2 separate regions of the Homo sapiens genome follow, and region 2 is linked to region 1. The links are contacts of gene promoters, found by promoter capture Hi-C in blood cells and fetal thymus (Javierre and others, 2016). All regions are on one chromosome and are shown on one strand. Each heading gives the region's core, a stretch centred on a gene start or on the middle of the fragment in contact. The rest is flanking DNA. Distances are from core to core; before and after follow the strand shown.

The links. Contacts are between HindIII fragments. The CHiCAGO score rates a contact against its expected background, and 5 or more counts as called.
Region 2: a contact is called between a fragment that was not itself captured here and the fragment with the promoter of OR4D6 in region 1, in 2 of 17 cell types (M1 macrophages and M0 macrophages). The highest score is 5.8, in M1 macrophages.

Annotation. Positions count from the first base shown.
Region 1 is chr11:59,455,556-59,458,513 of GRCh38, forward strand. It overlaps OR4D6 (olfactory receptor family 4 subfamily D member 6), which reads left to right and starts at 1,406. Exons shown (of 1, transcript NM_001004708.1): 1 at 1,406-2,350. The coding sequence starts at 1,406. The coding sequence ends at 2,350. The HindIII fragment of the contact is 6,869 bases long and covers 1,002-2,958 here.
Region 2 is chr11:59,159,621-59,162,578 of GRCh38, forward strand. No RefSeq gene overlaps it. Among named protein-coding and RNA genes, the nearest start is that of DTX4, 11 kb to the right of the region's middle. The HindIII fragment of the contact is 6,486 bases long and covers 1-2,958 here.

The DNA.
Region 1 (2,958 bases), core at 156-2,655:
TGAGTCAACAAACCTGTTTACAGTTCTCTATATTTCACCAATTCAAACTCTGATTCTGAAAAAAATAAATGTCCTTCTCTAGTCACTTCTAAAGTAAGAAACATTAGACTAATTTATCTCTGAAGTCCTGTGACGCTCTAATGATCAGTTTTTCTGTGATACTAAAACATGCCCTGAACAATGACTGTGGCTCTATACAAAGAGCCCTGTGTGTCAATAGCAAGGTCCAGGCTTCCCAGAGTGCCAAAGAGGAGTACTTATGAGGGCCTGACCCTTCTCTTTTTATAAGGGATGAGATAAGGATTAGGTAGTCAAACTACTTAATAAACTGTTTAAGCCTTATATACACACTAGAATTCCGGTAAGCCAAAGTAAGCCCCAGACTCTCTGATTTCTCAGAGTTGTACAGTGGAAAAACCTCTGGAGACTGTTATGTTAAAGAAAAATTATTCACCAGACAATTATTAAAGACAGGAAGATAGATTTCATTTAAAACTCTTGCAATAGAAGAAAAAGATTGAGCTCAACTCGAAATATAGTGAAAACAAGTGAAGATTTATAAGCAATGAGCAGAGTGAGGGAGGTCAGTGGATTGAAAATTACTAAGAAGTGATATCAAAGGTAGGGTGGTTCTTGCTAAACTGGCATAAAAGAATTCTTGCTAAAGACTGGCCAAGGACTTAGATATTGAGGGTGAGGGATGAGGTTAAAAATAATAAATATATAAAAGGGTAAGGGGTGAGGAATTTGATTAGATTTCAAGGGTGTGGAATTCTCATTAAACTGACTTGGCAAGATTCCTGTTAAAATTGGGCTCAGCAAAGACAGACACAGAAGGTCAAGGTTGAGTCATAGTCAAGAAAAGGGCTCAGAGGAGCCTAACCAACATTTGGTCAAGGAGGGAATCTTTCTCAAGTCAGGAGATTGATTTGTATTTGAATCCTCAATTTACAATTCACTAATTTTGCGACTATGCAGATGTAAGTCATTAACTGCTGTAAAGCTTCAGTTTCCCCGTATATAAAATGGAGATAACCATACTAAAGACTCTTCAGAAACTTCATGAGAATTGAAATCAGTATGAGCTATTGCAGGTGAAAGCCCTTGGTAAAGCATAGGCAAATGGCCATAGTCCATCCATCTCTCTCTGGTCAGAGTGAGGATACAGACATGTGATGGTTTTTTCCTGTTAACCCAAGGTATTTACAATAAGAAAGAAGAACCATATGAAAGAAGAATTTCCAGACCACAAAGAGAAGACTGGCCCAGTTTTTCTGTGTAGTCATGATGACCTGGATGCTTGAGAGCAGTATGTGATCAATGATTTTGCCACCTCATGTCACCATAATCCAAGTTCTAACATATCTTCATCAAAGGTAGGACCTGGAAGAGAGTCATCCCCATCATGGACCAGATCAACCACACTAATGTGAAGGAGTTTTTCTTCCTGGAACTTACACGTTCCCGAGAGCTGGAGTTTTTCTTGTTTGTGGTCTTCTTTGCTGTGTATGTAGCAACAGTCCTGGGAAATGCACTCATTGTGGTCACTATTACCTGTGAGTCCCGCCTACACACTCCTATGTACTTTCTCCTGCGGAACAAATCAGTCCTGGACATCGTTTTTTCATCTATCACCGTCCCCAAGTTCCTGGTGGATCTTTTATCAGACAGGAAAACCATCTCCTACAATGACTGCATGGCACAGATCTTTTTCTTCCACTTTGCTGGTGGGGCAGATATTTTTTTCCTCTCTGTGATGGCCTATGACAGATACCTTGCAATCGCCAAGCCCCTGCACTATGTGACCATGATGAGGAAAGAGGTGTGGGTGGCCTTGGTGGTGGCTTCTTGGGTGAGTGGTGGTTTGCATTCAATCATCCAGGTAATTCTGATGCTTCCATTCCCCTTCTGTGGCCCCAACACACTGGATGCCTTCTACTGTTATGTGCTCCAGGTGGTAAAACTGGCCTGCACTGACACCTTTGCTTTGGAGCTTTTCATGATCTCTAACAACGGACTGGTGACCCTGCTCTGGTTCCTCCTGCTCCTGGGCTCCTACACTGTCATTCTGGTGATGCTGAGATCCCACTCTGGGGAGGGGCGGAACAAGGCCCTCTCCACGTGCACGTCCCACATGCTGGTGGTGACTCTTCACTTCGTGCCTTGTGTTTACATCTACTGCCGGCCCTTCATGACGCTGCCCATGGACACAACCATATCCATTAATAACACGGTCATTACCCCCATGCTGAACCCCATCATCTATTCCCTGAGAAATCAAGAGATGAAGTCAGCCATGCAGAGGCTGCAGAGGAGACTTGGGCCTTCCGAGAGCAGAAAATGGGGGTGAGCAGTCAGATGGAGAGTGGAAGTCTGTCTGACTTAGTTTTCTCAAAATGCTAGCCTAAGAGTAACAGGTCGCTAGCTCTTCTTCCACTACTTCATTGTATATCTTCATAGCCGCTCGATTCTATTAGCGGGAGTATACAAACAAAAAGAAGAAATGAGATTAAACAATGTGAGCTATCGAGCTTGTGGACTCAGGAGAAGAAGAGGGTATAAGGTTGAAATCAATACCCTAAATGCTTTTTGGTGTTACCTGTGACTCATACCAACACTTATCTCACTTTTAGCACCAGTAATATGGAAATATCATTACTTGCTCACAAGTTTGTCAAAAGAATGAAATGTGATCAATGCTGTGAGGATGATAGTTGTGAAGGTTAGTACTGCTCCTGGCATTAATCAGGTATTCAATCAACATTCCCTATTACCTACCCCTCTCTTCCTAAATGTGCATATACACAGAATATAGACACATTTATTTCATATATGCTTTCTCTGGTGACTCTGCTATATCCAGTCAATTATTGAAATCACTTGATTTTATTTTATTTTATTTTATTTTATTTTATTTTATTTTTTTGGGACGGAGTCTTGCTCTGTTGCCCAGGCTGG
Region 2 (2,958 bases), core at 290-2,789, 300 kb before region 1:
GTGTATTTTTGCCCCAGGACTATATTAGATATAGTGTTCCTTCTGTTATAATATAGATAGAAAAGATTTGGACTACTTGTACTTCCTTCAGACCATCACACCTGTCTACTATATCGATGTTAACATGCTAATTAGGCCAGATGGCAAGAAGTAATCAACTACCTTGGAGGTGCCGGTACACATGCATTTCAGGTGACAGGAAATAAACCCCGTGAGGAATCAGAGGCCCCCTAAATCAGGGGCATGCTAAGACCACCCATCCAAAGAAAAGGATGAATTATTGAATCTTGCATACCCCATGAAGAAAAAGAAAGTACACTGCCTGATAAATCTCTTTGGGTTCTGAAGGTAGCATATTCCATGCATGGGTATACTGTTTCAGCCAATTTACAGGGGATGCTATAGGCTGCCAGCCTTGAGTGGGGTCTGGATTAGGAAAGGGTCCCAGAAGATCCAAGCTATAGTGAAAACAGTACAGCTGCTTGGACCATGTGCCCTGGCTGACCCTCTGGTATCAGATGTGGGAAAAGATACCATGTGGAGTTGATAGCAAGCCCAAGTGGGAAAATTACAAGGCAAAGTTTTGGGGTTCTGGAGAAAGCCCGTGTTTTTTGCAGTGGATAGTTATATATCTTTTGAATAACAACTCCTTTTGAATTATATACTGTTTGAATATACCTTTTGGGCCCTGGTAGGGAGCACCTAACCATGAGACATTAAGTGACTCTGCATCCAAATCTCGCCATTTTTTAGTGAGTTCTATCAGAATTATCAAGTCATAATGTCAAGTGTGGCCAAAAAACCAGTCTCTCGTATGATGGAGTTGGAATGCCTAGCATTGTGCAGCATGAGCAGGAAAGGAGACCACAAGTGAGTTGTATGACAAATGTGTGGAGCAGGCTCCCAAAGATGTTCACACCATAATCCCTGGAATATGACCATGTAGGTTATATGGGAAAAGGGAATTAAGACCGCTAATCATCTAAGTTTAAGATAGCAAGGTTATCTTGGATATCTGGATAGCCTGATGTAAGCACGATGATTCTTAAAGGTGAGAAAAGGGAGAATCAGAGATTCAGAGGGAAACGTGACCATGAAAGAGGCACAGAGAGATGCAACACTGCTGGCTTTGAAGATGGGGGAAGGGGTCATGAACCAAGAAATGTGAGTGAGCTCTAGGAGAAAGAAAAGGCAAGGAAACAGATTCTCTTCTAAACCTTCCAGAAGAGAACTGAGCCATAATGATACCTTGATTTTAGTCCAGCGAGACCCATGTCAGGTATCTGACCTATGTAGGCCTATACATCAGCCTGGGAAACAAAGGGTAGAGGCAGGAAGGGCCCTGCTTAGCTTTATCTGTATCCCTAATAACACACTTAGGGAATTTGTGCTTCCTGTCTCTCCCTCTGCCATCCATGCCCCTGCCAGCCCCCAGGTCAGGGCTCTGTAGGATGAAAGGTCCTGATTCCCTGTGGGGGCACACTTCTGCCAGGGGACACGGAAAGAGTCCTGCTGAACTCTAAGCTATAGCTTCTGCCTGTCACTGCAAAGACTTTGTATCCAGAGACCAGTATGCAAGAAGAGTCATTGCCTGGGCTCAGGCAATTAACCCAGTTCTTCAGGAGGAGGAAGTGCTTATGTGACACAGTAAGGGCAGGGAGAAATGTGTTTGCCACTCACATGATCCATTTGGACCCTACTTGACCAAATTTGATAGTAAACAGACAATTACACCACCATAGCTTGAAAATAGCATGGCAGCCAGGGTCTCAGACCCCTCAGAAATGAAGATTTGGGTCCTGCCACCAGGTAAGACACCAATACTAGGAGAAGCATTACCTGAGGCTGAGGCTGATATAGAATGGACACCAGAGAAGGGAGAGAGTAAAAATCAGTTACATCCCCTAAATCAATTGCTGTGAGAAAAATGAGAATTCTCTCCGAAATTCCAAATAAAATAAATTCTCCCTTTATTTATTATTTTATTTATTTGAGAGAATTATCTCTCAAATTCCAGCTGTGCATTGTACCAACTGGAATTTGAAAGTGAAAAAATACCATTTATTTGAGCAATTTCCCTCCTTCCCATCCAAACTAACTTGCTGAGATTTTGATTGCATTTGCAATGAATCTGTAGAACAAGTTGGGAAGAACTGATAACTTGACAATACTGAGCCTTTCTATAAATGTACATTGACTATCTCTCCATGTATTTAGTCATTCTTTGATTTCATTTATCGGAATTTTGTAGTTTTCTTCATATAGAGCTTGTTCAGTCTTTTCAGATTTATGCCCCAGCTGTCTCTTCCCAGTGGAGTTGTATAGATAGTGCTATTTCTCCCAGCCACAATGTGTGACAATACACATGAAGTATCATCAGCCAGGGAAGCTCACCTGAGCTTCAGTGTCAGGGTTTTTACTGGGGGCTATTCATGTAGATATGGCTGACCTTAGTCTCCAGATCCTCCAGAAGTGGTGCTGATAATGTGTGGTCCAAGTCCACCACTATAAATATTAAATAAAATAGACTTCAGATCAGAGAAAATTACCAGAGACAGAGAGTGCTATTATATAATAATAAAAGGATTGATCACCTAAAAGACACAGTAATTACAGGTGTGCAAGCACAAAACAACAAAGTGACAAAATATGTTAAGCAAATCCTGATATAACTAAAAGGATAATAGGCAAATCCACAATTATAGTTAGAGAACTCAACATCCTCCTCTCTCAACAACTTATAGAACAACTATACAGAAAATCAGCCTGGATATGGAAGAACGGAACAACATGATAAACCAACAGGGTCTACTGGTCATTTATAGAACACTTCATCCAACAGTAGAGTACACATTCTTTTCAAGCACCCACAGAGTGAATACAAAGATAGATCATATCCTAGGCCATGACACAAACCTCAACAAATTTGAAAGAGTTGAAATCATATTGAGTGTGTCC